Regions from separate parts of the Homo sapiens genome. Here all the other regions are linked to region 3. The links are contacts of gene promoters, found by promoter capture Hi-C in blood cells and fetal thymus (Javierre and others, 2016). All regions are on one chromosome and are shown on one strand. The core of a region is centred on a gene start or on the middle of the fragment in contact, and the rest is flanking DNA. Distances in the headings are between cores, read along the strand shown.

Region 1 (3,886 bases), core at 1,387-3,886, 1.6 Mb before region 3:
GGTTGAGCTGTGATTAAAAAGGAAAGGACGGGCCTCTTAAAGTAGGTAACGACGGATGCAGTGACTACAGGACCTGAGATACAACCTGGGTTAAATCTGGTTCTGCCACTTACCTGCTACGTGACCCCCATTTTGACTTTCTGAACCTCCATTTCTGCATCTATAAAATGAAAGTGACAGTGTCGTGAGAAGTGAGAGCCTATATAAATGGCCTAGAATAGTATCTGGCATGTAGTGAATGCACAAGATGTGTTTTTATGAATGAATGACCCAAAGGTCACAGACTCAAACCACCCATGGGACTAGATCCCCAGCAAGGCTTGTGGCGGACCTAAGAGTTTGCGTCAAGTTCATGTACAAGGGAGGTCATAGTTACCATGTCAGAATGAAAGCCCAGTATTGTCAAATCCTCTAAATTTTCAAGAGAAGCTGGAAATCTGGATTTTAGGTGCAATTCCCTGATGTTTAAACATTAAAAACTAATTTAAATCCTTATTAAGAACTATAAAAATTATTTGGGCTAGACTACTGTCCTGTGGCTGACTACCTTTTGACCTCTGATCTGTGCCCAGGCTTAGAAAACAAAAAAGGTAGAAAATTAGACGAGAATCTCAGCTTTGGGAAATTGGATCTAAGACTTTTGTCTTTTTTTTTTTTTTTTTTTTTTTTTTTTTTTGAGACAGAATCTCACTCTGTGACCAGGCTGGAGTGCAGTGGTGTGATCTCGGCTCACTGCAACCTCCAACTCCCTGATTTAAGTGATTTTCCTGCCTCGGCCTCCCAAGTAGTGGGATTACAGGCACGTGCCACCACATCCAGCTAATTTTTTTGTATTTTTAGTAGAGACGGGGTTTCACCATGTTGGCCAGGATGGTCTCGATCTCCTGACGTCGTGATCTGCCCGCCTCAGCCTCCCAAAGTGCTGGGGTTATAGGCATGAGCCACCATTCCCGGCCAAGACTTTTGTCTTCCAAGATGTGAGATGAACAAAAGTGGAGATGCTGATTATAGATGCTAGACAGCTTACCTCTGAAGAGAAAATTAATGTCTTAACTACACACACTAATGTGAAATGCTTACCACTACAGCTCAAGTATCATGTTACAAAATATTAATATGCATATGTAGCATTCAAATATGTTGTCGATGTTAGAGTTAACTTTGTAGGTCTTATTTTGCAATAGATAACTGTCTGCACAGTCCGTTACCAAAAGAACTCCATCGATGACTGAAGCCAGTCTCATTAGTTGGTATGCAACCTGACATCTCTATACCCCATGCCTCATGGCCCTAGGTTGTAACTTATTACATCTGTAGAGGTAAAACCAGCCTAAGCTGATGTGGCAAGGGATAAATCCTTCATGCCCCAAAATTCTTTTTCCCACAATGCTGAGATTCCTGTTAGAGTTTATTTTTGAGATAACTAAGTGATAGCTTCCCTTAAGGTCAATTTACTTAATAAGATTTCTCAACATCTATGTAGACATACTGAGAGGATGAGGGTTGTAACTAGGGTGAAATGGAGAGAAAGGATAGGAGGAGAAATAAAAAGATGGGGAGATATTGAAAAATCTTTGGCAGAGAGTGGCATGACGATATTTGTGCGTTAGAAAGAGCACCCTTGCAGTACCTTGAAGAAAGAATTACATGGGCCAGTACAAAAGGCAGAGAGAAAGTCAGAAGGCAATTGCAGTATCCAGAACCTAGGTGAAGGTAGCATCATGGGAATGAGGAGGAAGAGACAAATCTGAGCGATATTAAACAGCAGAATTGAAAGATTGTAGAAATGATCTTGGGGGAAGGGTATGCGGAGGATGGAGAATGACATCGAGGATGCGTCTGCTATCCAGGCTTGGTCACCTGTGTGAACGCTGGTGCCATTACTGATACAAGGAAATCACAGGGGGAGTAGGTTGGAGGACAAGATGTGCTTTGGCCATGTTAAAATATTCGAGTTGCCTGGAGGATATCCAAGTAGAAGTTTCCAGTAATACTGTATATGCACATGAGTACCTCCAGAGATACTTTGGTTGCAAATAATAAATGTGCAAGCTATTGACATATAAATGGTCACTGAAGCGATTGATATATCATTTAGGGTTGTACTCAGCTGCACGTAAAAGTGACTGGACTACATAGCCTACAAATGAGAGAAGGTAAGCAGGTCAGGGCTGGTGTATTAGGCCTAGGGTGTCATCAATGTTGCCATGCTTTATCTTCCCGCTCCACTCTTCTCAGCATGAGGCTTTCACCCTCAGGCTCCAACTCTGATCTCCAATCTACAATCAGGGAAAGAAAAAGGAGAATAAAAAGGTAGTGCCTGTGTCAGGAAGACAGAAACTTTCCTTAAAATGCTTACGAGATTTTCACTCACATTTCATTTGACTAGAACTCCCTAGCTATAAGGAAGTCTGAGAAGAATGGACATCAAGCAGGCAACTCTACAGCATCTACCACAATGAGTCACAAGGGAAACGGGGGAGAATACTCAGGAGAATATGTTCAGTGAGGAAAAACCAAGACCAGAACCCCGATGAAGACCAAGATTTAAGGCATAGACAAGAAGCAGAATAGATAAAGGAGACAAGAGCTCATCTTCAGAAACTAGAAACGCACAGGGTCAGGGAAATCAAGAGAGGAGAATGTTTTAAAGAAAGGTCAGTAATTTCAAAAGCCACAGACGTCAGGTAAGATAAGAACTTAAGTCTCACAAGGTGAATGGCAAGGACCATTCCAGTGAAGCCGACTAGAAGGAAACATGATCATAGCTGGGCAAGCATGGTCATGGAGATGATGTGCATAGCCTACTTTGTCCAGAAGTCTGTCTAGGAGCAAAAGTGAAGGGAACAACGTGGAAGAATTATTTGGGCAATTATGCAACCTCCAGAAGAGGGCAGCAGAGTAAAACTTTTAATTTGCACTGCCTGCCAGATATCTGAAAATCAAAGGTTATCTCACCCCTTCCTCAGGAATAGAGCAGAAATCTCAGTGTTCCCCCTTAGAATACTGAAAAAAACTCAAAACTATCACTAAGAGTTGCATTTTTCCATTCTAAAACCTAGATTCTATGCTTATCTATTGCATAACAGGGTATTCCTAGTCCCTCTACCCGCTCCTAACAGTCTACAACAAAAGGAGAGGCTGTAGCAAGATACTTGATGCCCTTTCCTGGTCTCTTGTTCTCAGAACCACTCTACTCTCAGCTGGCTGGGTCATCCATCCATTCATCCATCCATCCATCCATCCAACCATCCATCCATCCATCCATCCATCCATCCATCCATCCATCCATCCATCTGTCCATCCATCCATCCATATCCATCCATGCATCTATCCATCCATGCATCCTGCCAACTACTGTTCCTCTGAGCTTTTCAAACTCTATTTCCAGCTAGTACTCTGCTACTAGAACATTCAATGACTATCTACTGCTGACTACCTCAAATGTCCATGTTTTTTAATGGTCTGACCTTATTCTGCCTAAATCTTTATTTCCTACTATCCGTAATACAAAATTTCTGTTCTACTCCTTTCGTTACATTCCTGCTCTCTGAATCCATTGTGTTCCACCCCACCTCTGCACCTTCCCTCACACCAGTGGTTTTCAAACTTTTTGTTCTCAGAGCAGTCAAGAAGTGCTGCCACAGAACCTTCCAGTCGATTCCCAAGACTGCCAAAACTAGCTGGTGTACTACATACCTATATGGAGCATGCTGCACAGTATAGTCCTAATAGATTTGTATATTTATTACATTTTTTTACAGTCGATGGCAGTAAAGTGGCCAAAGGAAAAGGTGCCTTTTGCTAATTCATACAAAGACTAGCAGAGATCATTTTCTCCTCCTTTTTATGCAATATTTTAGGTCCTGCAGCACAAAATTATTTT
Region 2 (3,870 bases), core at 1,225-3,724, 1.2 Mb before region 3:
TTCTTCCTGGCATTTACTTAGCATAATGTCCTCAAGGTTCATCCATAGTGTAGCATGCGACATGATTTCTTTCCTATTTATTTATTTATTTATTTATTTATTTATTTATTTATTTCCAGACAGGGCCTTGCTTTTTTTCCAGGCTGGAATGCAGTGGCATGATCACGGCTCATGCAACCTCCACCTCTCAGGGTCAAGCCATCCTCCCAACTCAGCCTCCCGAGTAGCTGGGACTACAGGTGTGCACCACCACACTTGATTAATTTTTTGATTTTTTGTAGTGACAAGGTCTCACTATATTGCCCAGGCCAGTCTCGAACTCCTGGGATCAAGTGATCCTCCCATCTTGGCTTCCCAAAGTGTTGGGATTACAGACATGAGCCACCGTGACTGGCCTCCCTCCTTTTTAAGGGTGATGGGACAGAAAGCTTTTAAAGAATCTAGAGAGCAGACCACGTTGGGGGCACATAAAGAACACTTACTGAATACTCATTGGATGACTTTAATTTTTCTCATAATGTCTTTTAAATATTTGGTTTTCTAGTTTCAATAAGCTGGACCAGTCAGATTCCCTGTGGACATGAATGAAAGAAGAGACCAATCTGAGGATGCTTTGAGAGTTCCCGAATGTTCTACAAATGGTCCTGTCCCTTCCTGGCCTTCATAAAAAGAATGTTCTTTTTAACTTTGAGTAGTGGTTCTCAATGCAGGTGGGTGGGTCGGAGGTGGTTTTGTCCCCTCCCCAGAGGACATTTGGCAATGTCTGTAGGCAGTTTTGGTTGTCAGGACTTGTGGGAGGGTGCTACTGGCATTTAGTGGGTAGAGGTCAGTTTGCTGCTAAACATCCTACAATACACTGGACGGCCCACAACAAAGCATGACTCAGTCTTGTGGTAATAGTGCTGAGCTTGAGAAACCTGATGCAGAGACAGCAGCTCAAGAAGGTCACGCTGTGTATGGAGGGTTAGCCAATGGGGGACTTCCAGCCATTACATAGAGTGATGATTCTCCTCTTTAAGAAGGCCTGGCATATACTGAAATAGAACAACCTCCATCTACGTCAAAAGCTCAAAGTTGATACAAAACATCACATCAACAGTGGCTTTCTTATCTAAACACCATTTGTCAAAACAGAAAGCCCTTCAAACAGCTGACATTCAGGGAGGGCAGCCTCTGCCCTGCTCTGGGAGCCTCAACCCAGGATATTTCATGTTAACATAAACAGGATAAGCCTTTTCAGCTGCAGTGCTGTTTACCAGGAACCTGCTGGAATAAACTAGATTGTTAAGTTTAATTTAGTGAGCAGCAGTAATCACCGTAGTTCTTCCATTTGTGGAGAAGAAACAAACATGTGGGCACATCTGACAGAAGCTGGATTTGCCAAATGGTGGATTTGCCAAATGGTGAGGGTGACTTTGGAGTGCTACCCCAGCGGATGATGAATGTAAGGATGACAGACTCCATCCCTCAGAGGAAAGAATCAACTTAAAAGTGAAAGAAGCAAGCCTAACTGCCCTCCCTGCTCTGAGGGAGGAATGGAAAGGCATTCTGGAAACGCATTTCTGTCAAAGCCGAACATCAGCAAGTCAGTGACTAAGTTGAAAGGAAATGTGGTCAAAGGGTACAAAGTTTCAATGACCCTGGAGGAATATCCTTTAGCGATCTATTGTACAGCATGGTGACCACAGTTATTAATAATGCATTGTATTTATGCATTTATTTTTATTTCAGTAAGATTTAATAGCTTTTTGGATTAAGCAGTAGAAAAACTTCCATACTTAACTGAGACATTTTATCAAGGCCAAAAAAATTCTTGCAAAATGGTGCAGCCGACTGACAAGCTGACATAGAAAATAAACTTTGCCCAATCACAACTTGTGACTCCCATCCTTGGAGTGCTGACTGGCCTCAGTAAGACAGAATCGCTTTAAATCCATTACTCCATGCCCACCTGAGGCACTGTTGAAGAAATCTCACTGTTCACCCAAGGTGCTGGTTCTGGTACACTTGGATCATAAGTCCATTTGGGGAAAACTCATTTGTAAAGGTTCATCAGTTCTGTGTTCTGAGATTTTAGCTTCCTATCAAAGCTGCACTTCATGCGGCCATGGGTACCTGAAGGCTCCTGGATGTGTCCTCTGCGGCTCCACTTTGTTCTCAGTTCTACTGGTTTAAACCACTGCACATCCTCTCTATTGAAGAACATGTAACATACCACTGCCATCTTAGTACAAATTTTGAAAGGAGGATCACTCAGGACAACTCTCTTGATGACCATTCTGTTTGGATCCACCAGCAAAAGATGGCCTGTAGCAATGAGATTGTGCATTCCATTGCTTTTCTGCTTGAAAAGCAGCAAAGATGAAGGAGGAAAAGTGGTTGGTGCGTATACTGTCACCGCCAGGGCCATATCAGCAGTCAGGAATCTCTGAAATTTATGTTTGTCTGCTGCAGCATGCTGAGAGAATAAAGGTGAGGCTCGGAAGTGCCTGGATCTACAGCGGAATATGAGCTCCTCCTTGGCTTTCGCAGATTCAGTGCTGCCAGGGTCATGCCTCACCACCATATTCAATACTGACATCTTCTGTTCATGAGGTAGTGAAGAAAATGCAATCAAGGGTGCTCCTTGCCTGAATCACTCAACCACTGAGACAGGGACATTAGAGACATGAAGTGTGACATACTGGCCAACATCAGCTCCTTCAACCTCTTTTTCTTCAATCTCTTTAAATATGCTTTTCCTAGTACTAGTAAAGTTCTGAAACTGAAATATTCAAGCACAATCTTGAGCAATATTTTTCCTTAGGATCCTATGGAGATGTCTGGAAGCTCTTGAGGCCTTTGTATTTCTGAAACTGAATTTCTGGCAGCCACATCACAGGGGGTGTCCACCCACTTCACCTGGAAACATCTCTTCCAGTCTTTCTTGTTTACATTTCTCCAACATTTTTGCCTCAGCTTCTTCATCCACTTTCTCATCAGAGAGATCATCATGCACAGACTCCCTTGTAGTCATAGTTTCACATTCCTCCTCTTCTTCATCTTCACACTTTCATGCTGAGATTCCTCCTTCATAAAATCCTCATGTTCTGTATCATCATATTCTTTACCACCTTAGAATCTCCCTTCAAGAAATCCTTTGTCTCACTCAACTCCTCCTCATTGGGCCAGGTTTGCTCCCCCTGCGTTAGATCTGGGATAACCTCTGTTTGTCAGGATTCCTGTCTAGCAGGATCTGCCTTCATTAGGACTTTAAGGTCTTCTTCCATATCATCGACAGTATCCATAGCACAAATCTCTATTGCCATGTCTGGGTCCTTTTGGGATTTAATTACTGTAGGATTTAAAGGGAAAGGGTCCATGGGGTCATCTATGTGTTTCATCTGGAAATCACCACGTCCAGTGATATGCAGCAACCTATTTACATTCAGAGTCTGCCCACGAACATAGCCTGAAATTTCCAAGGTGCCCACCAAATTATTCTCTTCACTAGGAACAAAATCAGCAGTATGGGCAAATAGGTAGGCCTGCTGATCTCGAAAAGCAAGATGCCATTGCTTCTGGTTAGCCAACTGCCTAAGCAGCATCCCTGCCTCCTGTTGAGTGTCTAACAAGAGGAGTTTGTCATCCAGAAAGTGCTTCTCCACTGCTTTACTTAGCTTCTTTCTGGCATCTATTTGTTTCTTCAGTGGGAGGCCAGATAATCCCTGGACAGCTAGTGCTAATGAGGAGAGCCATCCTTGCTACCCAGCTGTCTCTTCTCCGCCAGAACCACCTCCTTCTTCTGCTTTTGGAGCTGACTGGCGGAATGCCTCTGGTCTACTCTGCTGAGTTCTTTTCTCACCTTCTTGCTTAGGGTTTTCAGTGCTA
Region 3 (3,651 bases), core at 1,005-3,504:
TAAAATTCACATACACAAACATTTGTTCATTTTTACCGTCACTAATGTTACTCAGTTCAAGTATCTGAAAAAGGGCATGGGTTAAAAGAAATGGATACTAACTGACACACAAGAAATTGCTGGGAACTTAAATCACAATTAAGTAAAGTGGTTGCTATCACCAATTAATAGGAGAGGAAGATTTACTTAGATGAAAGATCCAGTCCATATTACACTACAGAACAATAAACTACTTCCTAAGCCCTTTACTACCCAAACCGTATAACTGTAGAAGAAAAAGCAGGAAAAGAAAACCTAGACATAATTGCTGTGATTAAAAAGGAACTGAAAGGAGACAATAAATATGTATTTTGCGAGGCCAAAGATTGGGAAGTAGGAAAATATAGAATTCAAGACATAAAACATAATCCCTACAAATGACAATGATCCAATAATTCTATTTTGAATATATACAGCATTTCTTTTATAAACTTGAAGAATAATTATATCCATTACATCAAAAAAATTCTATTTGAGGAAAGTGCCAGTCATTTTCCCTCCATTTTATTTTCCGTTAGAAAAACTAAAGTAATAAGGGGTTAAGCAACTTTTTTAACTTCAAAGGGCAAAAGCTGAATGAGCACCAGTTGTCCTGCCTTCTAGAGAAAATCATAATTTTATACAAACATTGTATAAATTGCCTTTCTTACAGATGTATGCCTAGGCAGGTGAGTGTGTATATTATTTGGAGGGGTGGCTAATACTGAAGTTAAATATAGTGGTGAGAATGTGGAGCACATCAAGTTCATAGCTTCACAACTTCATAACCTCCTTCACTGTAAGATTTTTGTCCAGGACACCCCTATTCTGCCTTAACACCTTATTCTATGAGGCTTAGCTCAGGTCTTGCCTTCCCTGACCACCCTCTGAGCTGGATGCCTCTTTCCTTTACCTCCACTGTCCCTGTCCATAATCCTGTCTTTCTTAGGCATTATCACTTTGATCTGAAATGTTCTGTGGGCGCAGCAGCCTCTCTACTTGGCTTTAAGTGCTGCAGGGAGCTTATTCACTCTTGCATCCTCATCTCTTAGCACAATGCCTGGCATAATGTCAGTGCTCAGCAAGTGTTAATAATACGTCCTGTCCTTCCAATGTCCAGTAGTTATTTCAGTAACTAAATCCTCTTTTTTAAAACCACCTTATGCAAAGTTAATCCTCTGTGGTTCAAAAAGTTCCAAGACAACTTAAAAGACAAATTTTCCATTACTTTGTCATCTCATCTGTCGAATTCATCTGTAATTTGTCTAATTCAGCATCTCCCACTGTGTGTGTTCCCATGAGTTGGACTCCAAGAGATGCTCTTGGTAAGCGTATCTATGTGGGAAACATGTTACTCAATCTAGCAAGGCAGCCAGTGCAGTGGTTTAGCACACAGGTGCTGGGGGCAAACTGCAGGCTCTGTCGGGCAAGTGATCATTCTGTGTGCTTCTGTTTCCTCTTCTGTAAAATAGGACTAATAACAGTTTTTCTCCCTCACAGGGTTGTTGCCAAGATTTGCTGAGTATTACACAAAAGGTTTGGAGTACTTAGTGCTAGGAACATACTGACTACTATTATTAAGCAAAGTTAAACAATTTCTTTTTCTTATTTGGTTTTATTTTGTTTGCTGGCTGTAAGACTGCTGAGAGCCTTTAGCATGCTGATGTACCCATGAATCTCCAGGGAAGCAGTATTCCCCACATTTACTTGATGGAAGAGCTGCTAGCATATCTCAGGGGTAATGGGCCTCAAAACATACCTTAGGAAATTCCTATTTATAAATTTAAAAGAACGTTAACATTTTCCAAACCCAAATTGGGACACTGATTTGACCTGTATGGCTATAACTTGGGAGCATTGGTACATAATATTAATATTTGAAGAGAGGACTGGTCTAGCAACACAAGTAAATAATAATAATAATAATAAAAGCCCAAGACCTATGTGTTACTACAATTAAAATATTTCTTTTTTTAAAAAATCAAAGTACAAGTGAAGTGACTTTTATTGATATTAAAGTGGGAACTGCAAATATGGCCCAAATAAAAAACCATGTAGGCTTTACGTATTATTTTCTGACACAGTTAAAAAACTATTACTTGACAAAGATGAAGGGCCAGACTTCCTTATTCAAAACCTCACGCCATTTATCTTAATTCTGCTGCATCTGATACTGACTTCCTCTAGAGCCAGGAAACTTTGCAAGTATTAAATAGCGTGAACGAAGGAGGGAAAGAAGGAAGTAACCCACCAAAGTGAAAAAGAGGAACAAGTTCTAACCCAATGCAGGTTTAAAACATAACCAAAAGAACAAAAGAGAGAGCTTGACACACCAATCTTGAGGTAAGTAAGAACCTGATTTAAGGTATTTGGATGATTAAACACTATAAGAAACAAGTTTGTCTTTAATTAATCAATGATTTTTATCTTACTACAGTTTTTAGAAAAAAATGCCTTACGTAGCTGTAAGGGGGAAACCCAATTTACAAACTGAGAGTGATGTTAATGTTTCTTTACAATATGATTATGCTTTGCTGTTACCTTGTTTCCAAACAGCAGGGCATTCTCTTACTTGAAAATTCCTGAAGTTTCTCAACAATTTGCGATTTTAAGAAAAATGTCAAATTGTTAGGTAACCTGTTGGAACTGCTTTCCAAAATGAAAACAGAGTCTTCTTTCAAACTGGTCAAAGTGAACATTATTTAAGTGTTAAACTATATTTGAATGGTTATTGTTTAAAATATGTTTTTCATTATAGTAGGTCTTTGTTCATGTCTCACAGGTTTTTTCCTCTAATGTTATTTCGAAGAAAATGATGCATTTCTTTTTCTGTAAAAAGTCTTCTTGTCTTTATCTTGGTAAATATCTCTTAGACAAACAATTTTAATATTTTGGATGTACCAGAATTTCTACTCTACATAGAATAACATAGATGGTAAAAATGCCTTTTCTTCTTAAAAATTAAGAGAGTAATTTATTGCCTTATCCTCAGCTACAGAAGTGACAATAGTTAGCCTTCCTCAACCCTCACCGTGACTTCTGTTGCAGGCCTAGTATCTTTCAAAAAGTTGATTAATTTCAATCAATACTTAAAGTGTATTTTGTAAATTTATTTCAAATATTCTGGCAAATAACTTCTTAAATCATTAACCATGTATACCATAAAATATCTTGCAGATAATTGGTGCTCATCTGTTTCAGACAGGAAATGAGGTCCTAATGATTAAAGTCATTTGGCTAAACTTTTGTCCTTGAACACAAGCACGGCTGGCCTTATAAAGGAGGGACCCTGCAGATTGTAAATCTTATGTGGCGGACCATACAGTTCTCAACCTCAATATTACTCCCAAAAATTCCAAGGAGATTAAAATGTTTCTGCATCTGGGGTGCTTGTCCCTGTATTTTTATCAAAAAATTGTATAAATTAGCTGCACATCTTATTTAATTTTCTTTTATGAAATGTCAAATTAAATATTTGCATATTAATATATTCTAACCTTGGACAAATTTATGAACGTTCATTACCATTAAACTTTTCATGAAAACTCACTGAAAGCAGAGCACCACTTTGTGAATTTCTATTTTTCTTCTCATTGTTACTATTATTATCCCATAAGGAGATTACTTCATTCA
Region 4 (3,737 bases), core at 434-2,933, 1.3 Mb before region 3:
TCTTGGTTTTGGTGTCATATTTAAGAATTCATTGCCAAATCCAAGGTCAGGAAGCTTTATCTCCCTGTTTTCTTCTAAGAGTTTTATAGTTTTTGCTTTTATATTTAGGTCTGTGATTTATTTTGAGTTTATTTTATTTATTTATTTTTGAGACAGAATCTTGCTCTGTTGCCCAGGCTGGAGTGTAGTAGCGCGATCCCGGCTCACTGCCACCTCTGCCTCCTGGGTTCAAGCTATTGTCCTGCCTCAGCCTCCCAAGTAACTGGGATTACAGGCACCTACAACGATGCCATGTTGGGTTTTGCCATGTTGGCCAGGCTGGTCTCGGACTCCTGACCTCAAGCGATCCACCTGCCTTGGCCTCCCAAAGTGCTGGAATTACAGGCGTGAGCTACTGCACCCAGCTGAGTTTATTTTTGTATATGGTTTGGGTAGGGGGGTCCAATGGCTATTTAGTTGTCCAGTCTGTTTTTTTGAAAAGACAATTCCGTATTGAATCATCTTAGCACTCTTGTTGAAAATAACTTGGATATAAATGTGTGGGCTTATTTCTGGTTTATATGTCTGTTCTTAGGCCATACTACAGTTTTGATCACTATGGCCAAGGTGCGAGGATTGCTTGATTCCAGGAGTTTGAGACCAACCTGGGCAACGTAGACCCCATCTCTACGAAAAATATTTTTAAAATTAGCTTGGTGTGGTGGGGCATGCCTATATTCCCAGCCACTTGGGAGGATGAGGTGGTAGGGTCGTTTGCACCCAGGTGGTGGAGGCTGCATTGAGTCATGGTAGTGCCACTGTACTCCAGCCTGGGTGATAGAGTGAGACTTTGTCTCGAAAAATAATCAAAATGGGCAAAGGACTTGAATATTTTTCCTAAGAAGATCTACAAATGGCCAGCTCACTGTTACTTTACAGTAAGTTTTGAAATAGGGAAGTGTGAGTTCTGTAACTTTATTCTTTTTCTGAATTGTTTTTGGATGTTTAGGGCCCCTCGCACTTCCAAAGGAAATTGAGAATAGCCTTTTTTATTTCTGTACAAAAGAGAGTGTTGGATTTTTTTTCTTTTTTGAAATAGTGAAACTTAGTGAAAGGTTCTCTTATCCCCTTTGCAGGGCATGTGATGGGGGTGTGCCTTGCTTCTTTGGCACCCCACTGCTCAAATCTCTAGGGAGAGCATGCAGACAGGGCAGGCTGTGGGACTCCGACCCCACGGCAGCACCTAGGGGTGAATGTTTACAGCTCCTGAAGCCCCAGTGGGCATGTGTTACAGGGTGCCCTTTTAGTCTAGCCATCCATAGGCGGCTTGTGTTAGCTCAGTTAGATGCCCTGCCTTATCGCAAGGACAGAGGGCTTTTTTGCCTTGGTGTATGGGAAGAATCAGATCACACGTGGGCTTGGAGAACGAGTGCAAGGTTTTATTGAGTGGAAGTTTCCAGCAGATGGATGGGAAGCCAGGAGGGAGATGGAGTGGGAGGGTGTTTTCCCCTGGAGTCCTGCAGCTCAGTGACCTGGGCTCTCCTCTGACCGCACCAGCCAAACCCAGCCAAACTTCATGCCCTTCTTTGGTCGATGGCCTGCCAGCCTGCTTTCTGTCAGTGTGGTATTCCACTGGCATGCTTCCCTGGACATCCAGCTATTTGTGTGTTCTTCCGCCGATATGTCCCTCTCGATGACGTCCAGCCACTTGTGTCTCTGCCTACTAGAGTCTCTGAGGGTTTTATAGGCACACGATGGGGGTGTGACTGGCAGAGTGGTCTTGGGAAATGCATCATTTGGTCAGGAAAACAGAAATGCCTGTCCTCACCTAGATCCGTGGGCACAGAACCGGGGATGGAGCCCTCGCGAGGGACCATGCCCTTCCCTTCCCAGCGCTTGCCTGCACACTTCTGTATCAGTAGGGTCTTACTCTTTCTCAGGGGATTGGAGCCCTAGCCAGGGACCATGCCCTTTTCTTCCCAGCACTTCCTTGCCTCCCTCCATATCAATAGAGTCTCATTTTGTTGCTCAGGCTGGAGTGCAGTGGTGTGATCTTGGCTCACTGCAACCTCCACTTCCCGGGCTCAAGCAATCCTTCCGCCTCAGTGTCCCAAGTAGCTGGGACCACAGGTACGAGCCACCATGCCTGGCTGATTTTTTTATTTTTAGTAGGGACGGGGTTCACCATGTTGCCCAGGCTGGTCCTGAGCCACTGAGCTCAAGTGATCTGCTCACCTTGTCCTCCCACAGTGCTGGGATTATAGGCGTGAACCACTGTAGCCTGGCCGGGTGTTGGAATTTTAATAGAGATTACGTTGAATCTGTAGATCATGTTTGGGTAGTGTTGTTGTCTTAACAGTGTTGAGTTTCCCAGTCCTCAAACACAGGGATATCTGTCTTTTGTTTTTCTTTTTTTTTTTTTTTTTTTGAGACAGAGTCTCACCCCGTCGTCCAGGCTGGAGTGCAATGGCGTGATCTCGGCTCACTGCAACCTCTGCCTCCTGGGTTCAAGCGATTCTCCTACCTCAGCCTTCCAAGTAGCTGGGATTACAGGTGCCTGCCTCCATGCCCAGCTAATACTTTATTTTAGCAGAGATGGGGTTTCACCATGTTGGCCAGCCTGGTCTCAAACTCTTGACCTCATGTGATCCACCTGCCTGGGCCTCCCAAAGTGCTGGGATTACAGGCTTGAGCCACTGTGCTGGGCCAGGGATGTCTTTCTGTTTAGGTCTTTTAACATTTCTTTCAGCACTGTCTTAATAGTTTTTGGTGTGCAAGTCTTAACATTTTCTTGGTTATATTTATTTATTATAGGTATTTTATGCTTTTGGATTTTACTGCGAATTGAGTTGTTTTCCTAATTTCTTTTTTGGATTGTTAATAGTGTATACACAAACAGCTGTTTTTGTGTGTTGATCTTCTATCTTGGCAGCGTTCCTGAATTTAATTAGCTCTAATACATATTTTTTCTGGACTCTTTAGAATTTATGTAAGATCATGTAATCTGTGAATAGGAATAATTTTACTTTTTCCTTCCCAATTTGGATGCCATTTAAAAAAATACGACACTGTCTCACTATGTTCCCCAGGCTGGAGTGTAGTGCTTTTCACAGGTGCCATTATAGCACTCTACAGCCTCAAACTGTGGGGCTCTAGCACTTCTCCCTTCCCAGGCTCCCAAGTATCTGGGACTACAGGTGCTTTGCACTGTGGTGGCTCAGGATGCCTTTCATTTCTTTTCTTGCCTAGTTGCTATGGTTAGAACGTCTACTACAGTGTTGAATAGAGCTTGTGAAAGCAGGGCATTCTTGTCTTGTTCCTGATCTTAAGGGGAAAGCTTTCAGTCTTTCACCATTGAGGATGATGTGCTGTGGTTTTTTTTAATAGATGCTGTTTATCAGGTTGAGCAAGTTTCCTTCTTGTTTCTAGTTTGTTGAGTATTTTTATAATTAAAGGGTGCTAGATTTTGTCAAATGCTTTTTCTGCATCAATTAAGATGATCGTTTGGTATTTTTCTTTCATGTTATTAATGTGGTGTATTATTGATTGATTTTTGTATGTTGAGTCACTCTTGCATTCCTGGGAAAATACTACTTTGTATGGTGTTTAATCCTTTTAATATGCTGCTAGATTTGGTTTACTGGTATTTCATTGAGGATTTTTACTCAGTACTTTGGTTGTAGTTAGAATTCCTTAGCTATTGGTTGATTTTGGGTGTTTTTGATGGTCTTTGTGATTTTAAAGCTTATTTTAAAGTT
Region 5 (3,911 bases), core at 429-2,928, 1.2 Mb before region 3:
TTGCATTTGTTGTATAGATATGAATACTTAGGGTAAGAAAGCTTTGGATATCCATCCTGGCTTAATTTTTCATTCCTAAATTTAACAATTATAAGTATTACGTTTATGGTTGTTGGTTTTTTTTTTTTTTTTTAGAGTTTTGCTCTTGTCTGGAGTATAGTGTACAATGGCATGATCTTGGCTCACTGCAACCTCCACCTCCTAGGTTCAAGCAATTCTCCTGCCACAGCCTCCCAAGCAGCTAGGACTACAGGCGTGTATCACCACGCCCAGCTAATTTTTTTGTATTTTTAGTAGAGATGGGGTTTCACCATTTTGGCCAGGCTCGTCGCAAACTCCTGACCTCAGATGATCCACCCGCCTTGGCCTTCCAAAGTGCTGGGATTACAGGGGTGAGCCACTGCGCCTGGCCGCATTTATGTATTTTCAATGGAAGCTTAGTTAGGATCTATTAAAAGTTTTTAATAACTGTATTCTGTAGAACTCATTCTTTTTTTTTTTTTTAACTCTCTAAAAATCAGGATGACGACTCATTTAATTTACATAACAGCAATAGTACTCACCAAGAAAGGGATATAAACCGAAACTTCGATGAAAATGAAATTCCTCAAGAGAATGGCAATGCCTCAGTGATTTCCCAGCAGATCATTCGGTCTTCAACCTTCCCACAAACTGATGTTCTTTCAAGTTCACTTGAGGCAGAACACAGGCTAGTATTTGTTTGTACTTTTTGCTCAGCATTTTCTGTATTCGAGATTTCAATATTATAGAGTTTTTACGTGATTTAACAGGTTTATTGGAATACAACTTACGCCATAAATTTCACCCATTATGATATACAGATGGTTTTTAATATATTCAAAGTAGCCCTTTGTTCACTCGCATTTACTTTTCATTTGCACTCTGTCCTAGGCAGCTACTATTCTTTCTATAGATTTGCCTTGTGTATGTATCTTATATAAGTGGAATAATATAGTATGTGATTTTTGATGTCTAGCTTCTTTCACTAAGTATAATATTTTCAAGTTTTATTTGCATTGTAAGCACGTCAGTACTTTGTTCCTTTTTATTGCTGAATAGTACACTATATGACTATACTGCTTTTTTGTTCATCAGTTGATGAATATTAGTTGTTTCCACCTCTTTTTTTTTTTTTTTTAACAGTAGGCTCTAGTCCAATCTACTTTTTGACTGTTTTGGATAATGCTGCTGTGAACATTCATATATAAGTTCTTGTGTGGATATGTTTTTATTTCTGTTGGATAGATACCTAGGAGTTGAATTGCTGGGACATATGATAGTTGTGTTTCACATTTTTAGAAACTGACAAACTATTTTCCAAAATGACTATGTCATTTTACTTCCTTATCAGCAATATAGAAGGTTCTAGTTTCTCCACATTCTTACCAACACATGGTACCATCTATCTTTGATTACAGTCATTCTAGTGGGTGTGAAGTATGATTTCCCTAATGACTAATAGTGTTGAGTATCTTTTTATGTGCTTATTGGCCATTTATCCTCTTAGGAGAGAAATAACTGTATAAATACTTCGCTCATTTAAAAATTACATTTTCTTACTAAGTTGTAAGAGTTCTTTATATATTTGTGTATAAGTCTCATATATGATTGGCAGATAATTTCTCCCATTCTGTGAGTTTTTTCATTCTCTCAGTAGTGCAATCACCTCCCACCCACCCCCACCCCCACCCCCACAGGCACCTTTTGAGATGAGGTCTTTCTGTGTTGCCCAGACTGGTCTCAAGTGATCCTCCTGAGTAGCTGGGATTACAGGCTTGCACCACCATGCACGGCTTCAGTGGTACCTATTGAAGGGCAGAAAGTTTTAATTTTGATGTAGTTCATTTTTTTCCTTGTATGGTTTATGCAGGTTTCCTGGATGATGTGAGGTAGGAGTTCAGACTCATCCTTTCCCACGTGGACAGCGAATTGTCCCAATATGTGATTTATTTTTCGAGACAGTGTCTCACTCTGTCACCCAGGCCGGAGTGCAGTGGTGCGGTATTAGCTCACTGTAACCTCTGTCTCCCAGGGTCAAGTGATCCCCCCACCTCAGCCTACCAAGTAGCTGGGACCACAGGTGTGCACCACCATACCCAGCTAATTTTTGTATTTTTTTGTAGTGATGAGGGTTTCACTATGTTGCGTAGGCTAGTCTCAAACTCCTGAGCTGAAGCGATCCTCCCGTCTCGCCCTCCCAAAGTGCTAGGAGTACAGGCATGAGCCACAGTGCCCAGCCAGTCATTTAGTTTTTATTGTAAATTTTTTTTTTTTTTTTGACAGGTCTTGCTCTGTTGCCCAGGCTGGAGTTCAGTGGCAGGATCTTGGCTCACTGCCACCTCACCTCCTGGGTTCCAGAGATTCTTGTGCTTCAGCCTCCTCAGTAGTTGAGAATACAGGCACACGCCACCATGCCTGGCTAATTTTTGTCTTTTAGTAGAGATGGGATTTCATCATGTTGGCCAGGCTGTTCTCGAATTCCTGACCTCAAGTGATCCACCTGCCTCAGCCTCCCAAAGTGCTAGGATTACAGGTGTGAGCCACCACTCCCAGCCTGCTGTAAACTTTTAACAGCACTTTTTGCTTCCATCAGTATAGTCTAAAGCGTTTTAAAAAATAGTGATCTCTTAAGTGGTTTAGTCTTAGAATTGAAGAGTATTCATATCTAGAATTTATTTTTGTTTTTTTGTAGTTAAAAGCAGGTATTTTTGCAGAAATGACATACCCTTACTGTATTCCTTAAATAACCACATGGTTCGGCATAACTAAAAGATGTTGAAAACTACGAAAGCAAAGAAAGTTAATAGTTTATACCCTTAGATTATCATATTATTATTCTGTAATTGCTTTGTATAAACTGATTTTTTTTTAACTTAAAAAGTCTTACATCTTCTAAGAGCAAGCTTAGGGCTAAGTTACATTTATTAACAGCCCAGTTGATTGACTTGACTTTTTGCCAGTTCTAGAACCTCATTTAATTCTAAGACAGTGGAAAACTGGGTTATATCTCCTCTTGGATAACTTTTGTGGAATTTATTTATAATTTCAACTTCTATTTTAATTAAGAACATAAGCTACATGAGGCCAAACATTTTGTCCATCTTGTTCACTATATCTAGCACCTAGAATGGTGCTTGGCACATTACTTTGCTTAAATTTGTTAAATGAATGAGGGAAGTAAATATTGCAGTATTTTTCTACCTGTTATGTAAATCTGTAGTTTTTTTGAGGAATATTTTAATTTTACTTTTTATTTCTAATTTTTTCAAATGTTTTAATAGTTTATATTTCTCCTGCCAAGGGTTATGGCTGCCCCCTTAAAAACAAAAAACAAAAAAAACATAGAGATGAGCTCTCACTGTGTCACTGTGTTTCCCAGGCTGATCTCAAAAACTCCTGGACTCAAGTGATACTCCTGCCTCAGCCTCCCAGAGGGCTGGGAGTAGAGGCGTGAGCCACGACACCTGGCTAGATCTTCTTTCGTTCTTTTCTTTCTTTTTTTGAGGCAGGGTCTTATTCCATTGTCCAGCCTGGAGTGCAGTGGCACAGTGATGGTTCACTGATACCACTCAAATGATGCTCCTGCCTCAGCCATTGGAACAGCTGGGATTACAGGTGTGTACCACCATGCCTGGCTAACTTCTGTATTTTTTGTAGAGATGGGGTTTCGCCATGTTGCCCAGGCTGGTCTCAAACTCTTGGGCTCAAGCGATCCTCCTGCCTTGGCCTCCCAGAGTGCTGGGATTACAGCCACCATGCCCAGCCCTTCCCCACGCCCCTCGCTTTTTTTCCCTTAGATTGCTCCTTCAGAATAAATCTTTATCTTTCTGTCTTTAATCATATATTATTACTTTATCTTCGTGGTTACTTTTGTTTCCCTTCTCCAAATC
Region 6 (3,919 bases), core at 1,202-3,701, 1.2 Mb before region 3:
ATTATAGAATATTATGTATAGTCTGATCCTATTTTAGAAAATTAAAAAACAAGAGAAAAAAGTATATGTGCATATGTTAGGGTAGGTAGCTAGGCAGACATGAGCAGGGCAGGAGAGCCCCCCAAAAGGAACGTCAGGCGACCATCAGATGATGGCCAGGTGGTTGTTAAACTGTCTTTCTACAATAATAATTGATCACAGCGGTGCCAGGGGAAGGCAGTCTCCAACAGATAGAAAATACCTGAAGCTAGTGATCAGCAGCTTCCTAATAAGATCTTGGGATTTGGAAGAGTGGGCTCAAGCATGTGCACTAAGAGGCAAAATGGCAGAGTTTAACTGGTATATGACCTTCCTCTAGGAACAATTGACTGGTAAGGGAAAAATGCCTCAAATGAACATGTGTACAACTTCAGTAAGTGCACTGCACATGCAGCCCCTCCCAAATGCTGGCAGGCCATTGCACAGGCAGACAGCCCAGCCCAAGGAAAAATCAAAGGAGGAGAGACACAAAACCCCAGAAGCATGACAATATATAAAACCCCATGTCAAAGGTCAAACGGGGCACTTGGATCTTTCAAGATGCCCATTTGGCCCTCTTCCAAGTGTATTTTACTTCCTTTCATTCCTGCTCTAAAACTTTTATAATAGACTCTCACTCCTGCTCAAAAAACTTGCATTATGCTCCTTGGATGTATTCTTTGCTCTGAGGAGGCAAGAATTGAGTTGCTGCAGACCCATATGGGTTCACTGCTGCTAACACATCTGTGTTTGTGTATCTTTGTGTGAGCATAGAGAAAGTTATGAAAGCCTCTTAAAAGTGATTACTTTTGGGAAGGTGTGATTGGATGAGGGTGGAGAGGTTGTTACCTTTTTAAATTACTCAAGTAATTAACAAAGACATTACATTTGAAAACAAAACTTTAGAGCCAAGGCCGGCCCTATTAAATACCACTCCTGGCCCTCTTCCCGCGTTATATGTGGTTTTCCTGAGATTTTCTGTGTATTTGCATGGTTATATATGTACTTGGGGAGAATTCAGAATTTTTTAAAATACATGCTACCACGTTGTACGGATCTTTCTATAATATACCTTTTCACTCCACAGTGGTTCTTTTTTTTGTTATGTGTCCATGTTAGTAAATGTAAACTCTCTAATCCCTTTTTAATTGCTGCATAGGATGCCTTAGCAAATAACCATCTATTTAGCCATTCCTCTACTGACGGGCAGTTAAGACTCTTTCTATTTTTTAGCTATTAGAAACAGTGCCACAGGGGCCACTCGTGTACAAGCCTCCTTGAACGCATGTTTATGTTTCTCTAGGAGAGACACCACTAGTAAAATTGCTGGGTAATAGTGTATGACATTTGAAAAATATTTTTAAAGTAGATTCAGGCCCAGTGTGGTGTCTCTCGCCTGTAATCCCGGCACTTTAGGAGGGCGAGGCAGGAGGATTGCTAAGGCCAGGAGTTTGTGATGAGCCTGGGCAACATAGTGAGAGTTCACTTCTACAAAAAACTTAAAAAAAAAAAAAAAAAAAGAGACTACAGTATATTCTGTAGAATTGCCTTTAAAAGAGGCCATGACAATTTACATTTTATAATCTGAAGGATATTTAAAAAATTATTGTCTAATTTAAAACAGGCATGTCTTAATTAATAAAAAACAAAGAAAATCCATAAAATTGTTCTTGAATTCCCTTTGTTCTCCAAATGTGAAGAGATACATGGATTTTCACCTTTCCTGGCTTCCTCCAGGGAGTCCTCCCAGGTGAGCAGGAGATGGAGAAGGTAGCTTCGGACAGCAAAGATTAATGAGAGTCTTCAGAGAGCTTGTTTCTGTCCCCTGGAACTTACCTGATAAGCAAGAAAAAGTTACAAATTTACTACATATTGAGTATGCCTAGTCTCAAAATCTGAAATCCAAAAGGCCCAAAATCTAAAACTTTTTGAATGCTGGCCAGCATAAAATAAATGCTCCTTGGGGCATTTCAGATTTTCCTACTGGGGATGCTTAGCTAGTGTAATGTAAGAATTCCAAAACCCAAAACGTTTTGAAATGCCAAATACTTCTGGTCCCAAGCAGTCCCAAGAATTTCGACTAAAGGATGCTCAACCTGTATTTGGTGTTTTATTTATAGTTCCAGCATGAGAGAAAGGCATCTCTGAGTTTCAGAAAAGATTTTGGTTGAGCATATGAAAATATTGGCTGAAGAAAGAAAAGGCCTTTAGAATTTACAGAAACATGAAGTGGAAATGGCTCTTCCTCTGACTTAGGCAGTGAATGTAGAACACACCCGGAGAGCTTAATGGGATCTTTCACAGAAATGAAACTCCTCAACAAATGTTTGTCAGCTTAGGTGAGGTTCTTGGCTAAGGCACCAGTAGTGGACTTTGATATTCTTTTACAAGTGTATCACTCACCAGCAGAGGGGGCCAAAGAGCTTTCCACGGTTTGGAAACTCCCTGGCGTCAGAGAAAGCATCGGTATCACCTTTGCCTAATAGTGCAGCATATAAAAAATGTTTAAATTTGGTGTCCAACAAGAAATGCCATAGCAGTCATTTTCTTAAATAAGTAATTTTAACGTATATATGGAATGACATATGCACATTGTTAAAATGCAAATACAAAGAATACAAGAAGGCTTTTTGTATATAAAAACATAAAATGTTTTAAAAGACAGCGCTGGGGCTAAGACTCAGAACTATGTGTTTTAGACACTGTTCCCCCAGTAACCAGTTTGGAAACCTCCGGGATAGCTAATGGCTTCCCTCAGATAGGGAGTTGCCCTCTCCTTAAAAAGTCCCTGCTGGAGGGACAGAAAGGGTGACTTTTGTGGTTCTGGCTTTGTCCTATGGCCCTTTGGATTCCTTCCCACCTTACTGATCATGGTAGTGGAGTGGGTGGTGGCTGGAGGAGAGGCAAAAAGAGCATGTTTCTGTTCTAAACAACTGTCATACAGGGGCTCTGTGTTGATAAAAACACCCATGCTTTTAATTTCACATAATTTGTGGTTTAATTTGGCTATTGCAGTGACAGTCAAGAGATGATTCTCTTTGGAGAGGCTGAGAAGAAAAGGAAAGAGACTAATCAGGGTGTGTTAAACTTTTTTAATAAAAAACGAACACTAGGGGGCAGCAAACCACTGTTCGGAGGAGCGTCTGCACAAAATTTAGTAAGGCCGAAAGATTGTTTTCCTGAACACGTGATGTGTTTGTTAAACATCCTCTAAAAAGGGATGTCTGCTGTCAGGCTGCTTTTACCTGAATGGTAGTTTCAATCTTTAGGCGGTCTTTACTTTTCAGTTTCCTCCACACGTTCCGATACCTGCCATCTTCTCATGGAGCACATTCACATGTCACAATCAGTGTTTCCGCACTCTGGGCTTCTTAAAGGGAGCCCTCCTAGTGCCTCCCACAAAGACCGCTAACATTAATCTCCAAAACCACGCACCTCGTCGGGGAACAGGCGGCCTGAACAGCTCACTTCCTGTATCTTGAGGGATGAGGAGCTGGAGGTCTCCACCCGCTGGGTCTCTGTATTAGTCTGTTTTCACACTGCTTATAAAGACATATCCGAGAGTGGGTAATTTATAAAGAAAAAGAGGTTTAATGGACTCACAGTTCCACGTGGCTGGGGAGGCCTCACAATCATGGCGGAAGGTGAAAGGCACACAAGAGAGAAAAGAGAATCAAGCAAAAGGGATTTCCTCTTATAAAACCAACATATCTCCCGAGACTTAGTCACTACCGCGAGAACAGCACGGGGGAAACTGTCCCCATGATCCAATTATCTCCCACTGGGTCCCTCCCACAACATGTGGGAATTATGGAAGCTATAATTCAAGATGAGATTTGGGTGGTGACACTGCCAAACCGTATCAGTCTCTAAGTTAATACAGATTCTGCCAAGACCTCCT
Region 7 (4,017 bases), core at 1,085-3,584, 1.2 Mb before region 3:
GTTTTATCAGAGATCTGAAATGTAATCATTGAACTTTAATGGTAAATTATAGTCCTGTGAACTAATTGCAAGAATGGGTTTCCATGCTTTCAAATCTTTCAAAATAGAATTGCCTTTGCTAGTCTCATCACTTTATGCTTTTTGTGGAAATAAGGTAGTTAAGCACATTATTAGGCAAGAGTTTAACTTGATACTCATACTCCATTTCTCTCAAGGTTTTCCCTCATTTTCTGGAATGCTAAAGGTGAACAAAGATAATGGGCTGGAGAATTGTGACAACAGTATATAACTTTTTCCCCTCACTTTTTAATTTTATTAAAGAGACAGGGTCTTGCTACATTGCCCAGGCTGGTCTCAAACGGTCCTGGGCTCAAGCAATTCTCCTGTCTCAGCATCCAAAAATGCTGGGATTACAGGCATGAGCCACCGTGTCTGGCAAGAGTATATAACTCTTTTGCCTTACTTCAGTTACTTAACCTTTTTAAAATTGGGCACTTGATATGCTAAAACTAGTTGTCTGGTAGACATTAATATCTTGAGAAAATGAGATTGTATGTTTGTGTCAGCTTTTGTGTATTATTATGTATGTAATTTTTACTTAGATGCCAGAATGTACCTTTCCTCACTAGGGAATATAATTTTGTTGTAGCCTTAATGCCATTTGAATTTTTTTTTTTTTTTGAGACAGTTTCACTCTGTTGCTCAGGATGGAGCACAGTGGCATGAACGTGGCTCACTGCAATCTCCGCCTCCCGGGTTCAGGTGATTCTTACTCCTCAGCCTCCCGAGTAGCTGGGATTACAGGCATGTGCCACCACACCTGGCTAATTTTTGTATTTTTAATAGAAATGGGGGTATTGCCATGTTGGCCAGGCTGGTCTCGAACTCCTGGCCTCAAGTGATCTGTCCACCTCAGCCTCCCAAAATGCTAAGATTACAGACGTGAGCTACTCCGCCCGACCCTAATGTGATTTTCTTTAATGGCTGGAGAGAAGCAAAAACTAGCAGAAGGGAAAACAATGAAATGTCAATCTGTATACTGTAATAAGCAGGTACAGTTGCGTTACGAGAAGTTGACTTGGTGAGGTGAAGAGATATTTTCTCCCTCAAATTTGGACTTAATGTCCTGACATTGTTTAGCTTTTGAAAAGTTATTTTGGTTTATTGACTATTAGAGTGAGTCATTTGACAGAATGAGAAGAACCTGGCTACTGAGAAAGTGAGTCTAGGCAATTCTGTATCCCCACATAGAGACATAGAGACTCATGCCATCTATTAAGATGTCTGAAATTTCTTTTTTGAAGATTATTTTCTAAACCGAATGTTGGCAAACTTTTTCTGTAAAGGGCTAGATGGTAAATATTTTGGACCATGTGATTTTTGTTCCAATTACTCAATTAATAGTACCAATGCAGCCGCAGACAGTAAACAGGTAGGTGTGTCTTTTCCAATAAAACAAGCTGGGTAGGGACAGTAGTTTGCTGATCCTCATTATAAACATTAAAAACTAGGCCTTTGGAAACTCAAGGAAAGTGAAAGTTGGGTTGTCATATTTGATCTTTATACCATTACCTGTGTGATTTTTCAGTCTTGCAAAATGCTTCCCCCTGTCCTGCCCAGTTCTGGGGCAATATTTGAAAGCCTAACTTTTTTTTTTCTTTTAATACAGACATTCTGAATGTAAGGAAGCTTAACTTTTAAGACAATTGTTTCCCGTTTGTAAAACATGATTGTAATGTGTCCACACAGGATAAAATATAGTGTGTCCTAAATCACAAGGAAAGAAGTACAAATTTATCAGTGCAATATAGAGACTTTTACAGAGAAAGTGGGAAAACTTGTGAAACATGGAGATAGTTTTCAAAGGATAGACCTGCTTCCCTTTCTCCTCCAAAAGTGAGGTAATTTCTTCTGTCACTCTGCCAGCATTCTCTGCTTTGAGTATTTATGAGGATAAAAACTGTCTTTTTTCCTCGATTGGATTGTGCCAACAACAATAAGGACCATTTATTTTAACAGAAGACCCTTGCCTGCCTTTGGTGGAAATTATAGCTTATTTTTCTCCAAAGTGGAGACGTTGGCGAAGAGCATTTCATCACTTTGTTATGAACATGAATTGAGAACTAGAGGCATCACTTTATCAGCAACAGGAAATAATAAAACAGGATAAGAGCTTTGAAACAAGAGGTCAAGGTTTGGTATTGAAGTTGCCGTGATAAGGCATCAGGTTGCCATAATTTTGGGGTTTGTACTAAAGTTGAGTAGATGCTGGTGAGACATAATAGCGCAGATAGAAAGCCATAGGTGATGAAGTTAGTATCTTATCAGTAACACATGCTTCAGACTAACAACTAGGCACAGAGGGCAATACTCAAATTCTAGGGTGGGGATGAAGGAAAGATTTCTGTGATGGGGCAAAGATGTGAAGTCAGCGTACTGGACCTGAAATCTAGGAATTAGGAAATTGTCCTCAGCCAGTGAAACCACTCCAGAGGTACCACATGATATCTAAATCCATAGAAAAGAATAAAGAACAAGTTGCTGCAGGAAGCACTGAGAACCCTCCTAGACCTAGCTAGAGGCAGGGCTAAACAAAGTTCAAATAGCCCAGTCAGTCCAACCTCCATGAGAAGGGATCTGATCCATGATGATGAGTAAATAGAGAAGGCCTTCACTAGTTACATTAAAATGTGATCAATGATTTCTTTGGTAGCAAATATTTCTGTAACTGCAACTTTCTAGATTAAAACAATATTCTGCCTTCTCTTTAGATTGTATGAATCTTTCTCCTTTTACCAAATTAAAGCAACAAAGTCAGTAAATAAGGGCCTGCTAGGCTAGGCCTTGTACTGAGGGTACAAAGAATAAAGATAACCCTTGTGCTGAAATTGATCACAACCTTGTAGGACAGACTACTGCAAATGAGTTTTTCAGTATGTGCTGTGTACAGAGCATAGAGCATAGTAGGACAGCTCAGGGAAAGCTTTCCAGAGGATGTCATCGTTTCAATGATTGATTAACAATAGGCACGCTATAGCCCATTGGGTTCAGGAAACCTTTTGGAGTTCAGTATAGGTGTAAGGGGAGGAAAGGGAAATGAGGCTGGTGACACAGCAGGAGCCAGGTCATGAAGGACCCTCTACCATTTTGACCAAATTTTGATTTTATCCTGCAAGCAGTGGGGAGCCATCAAAGATGTTAAAACTGGAATATCAGTCCTTAAGTAACACTAAGATCCATATATATGATTGCTTAAAACTGCAGGGTAAGGGAGGAGGGAAAACTTGTGAATACTTCAGGTGTCACTTTAAGTGACAAGTCATCTAGAGGAGTATATGTTAGTAATGAAAGAGGCAAACTTCCTGGCATGTTGGGATGGGGGAAAGGTTGAACAAGGATCTGACCTGAAGTAGAGAAATTGCCTACGGCAGTCCCTGAGTAATACGCTGTCACATAATTTTAGACCTCACAAATAAAGATGAGGTTCTAATAAGTAATTTCTATCTCTTTTAATAAGCCTATTCTCTATTCCCTGTCCAAAGTAATTTATACTGAAAATTAATTGAGTAATTATTGAGCAATTACTATAAACAAAATGTAGTGCTGGTGGATGAAGAGACCCAAAGATGTAAAAAGTGTGGTCCTGCCTCAAGAAACATCCTCTATTTTATCTACATCTGTTTCCATATATAACTAAGTCCAGGGAAGACAAGCCTTGGATTTTCTGTATAGCTAGGCACATTCTCAGTACCTGAAAATTTGTGTCCAGAAAAACAAAATACTTCTTTTTGAATAGGTGCTTTTGCCATTTCTAAAAATGCAATGAATTTATATGTTTAATGTAGTTTTCTGTGGTTTGTTTCACAATGGGAGAAATAATTAATTTTACAATTTGCTAAGCCATGTCCTCTAAGGCCAAGAACTGCTACTATTAAAGATATTTAAGATATAACAAGAAAAAATAATAAACTAAAAAAACAACAGACAAGATACTTAAAATATGTTTTGACTTCAGAA

What was found. The method cuts DNA at HindIII sites, captures the fragments that hold promoters and counts their contacts. A CHiCAGO score of 5 or more calls a contact.
Region 1: a fragment that was not itself captured here is called in contact with the fragment with the promoter of GAPT in region 3 in 1 of 17 cell types (neutrophils); the score reaches 5.2 in neutrophils.
Region 2: a fragment that was not itself captured here is called in contact with the fragment with the promoter of GAPT in region 3 in 6 of 17 cell types (naive CD8 T cells, total CD4 T cells, naive CD4 T cells and 3 more); the score reaches 7.8 in naive CD8 T cells.
Region 4: a fragment that was not itself captured here is called in contact with the fragment with the promoter of GAPT in region 3 in 1 of 17 cell types (neutrophils); the score reaches 5.6 in neutrophils.
Region 5: a fragment that was not itself captured here is called in contact with the fragment with the promoter of GAPT in region 3 in 1 of 17 cell types (neutrophils); the score reaches 5.5 in neutrophils.
Region 6: a fragment that was not itself captured here is called in contact with the fragment with the promoter of GAPT in region 3 in 9 of 17 cell types (neutrophils, monocytes, M2 macrophages and 6 more); the score reaches 17.6 in neutrophils.
Region 7: a contact is called between a fragment that was not itself captured here and the fragment with the promoter of GAPT in region 3, in 5 of 17 cell types (total CD4 T cells, M0 macrophages, neutrophils and 2 more). The highest score is 6.7, in total CD4 T cells.

What each region holds. Positions count from the first base shown.
Region 1 is chr5:56,898,137-56,902,022 of GRCh38, forward strand. LOC105378980 (a long non-coding RNA gene) reads right to left here and starts at 1,930. Exons shown (of 3, transcript XR_948347.4): 1 at 1,861-1,930; 2 at 114-160. RefSeq lists an enhancer at 1,599-1,768. The HindIII fragment of the contact is 7,054 bases long and covers 1-3,886 here.
Region 2 is chr5:57,316,048-57,319,917 of GRCh38, forward strand. It overlaps the pseudogene LOC100288510. Among named protein-coding and RNA genes, the nearest start is that of RMEL3, 77 kb to the right of the region's middle. The HindIII fragment of the contact is 4,097 bases long and covers 427-3,870 here.
Region 3 is chr5:58,489,181-58,492,831 of GRCh38, forward strand. GAPT (GRB2 binding adaptor protein, transmembrane) reads left to right here and starts at 2,255. Exons shown (of 3, transcript NM_001304431.2): 1 at 2,255-2,361. The HindIII fragment of the contact is 6,945 bases long and covers 1-3,651 here.
Region 4 is chr5:57,206,268-57,210,004 of GRCh38, forward strand. The region is part of intron 2 of GPBP1 (GC-rich promoter binding protein 1); the gene reads left to right. Among named protein-coding and RNA genes, the nearest start is that of GPBP1, 34 kb to the left of the region's middle. The HindIII fragment of the contact is 3,262 bases long and covers 53-3,314 here.
Region 5 is chr5:57,250,433-57,254,343 of GRCh38, forward strand. GPBP1 (GC-rich promoter binding protein 1) reads left to right here. Exons shown (of 12, transcript NM_022913.4): 10 at 522-709. Among named protein-coding and RNA genes, the nearest start is that of GPBP1, 78 kb to the left of the region's middle. The HindIII fragment of the contact is 2,488 bases long and covers 435-2,922 here.
Region 6 is chr5:57,295,962-57,299,880 of GRCh38, forward strand. It overlaps LOC107986381 (a long non-coding RNA gene), which reads right to left. Exons shown (of 2, transcript XR_001742513.2): 1 at 3,264-3,919; 2 at 1-1,854. Among named protein-coding and RNA genes, the nearest start is that of RMEL3, 97 kb to the right of the region's middle. The HindIII fragment of the contact is 8,863 bases long and covers 1-3,919 here.
Region 7 is chr5:57,268,074-57,272,090 of GRCh38, forward strand. No RefSeq gene overlaps it. Among named protein-coding and RNA genes, the nearest start is that of GPBP1, 96 kb to the left of the region's middle. The HindIII fragment of the contact is 1,294 bases long and covers 1,688-2,981 here.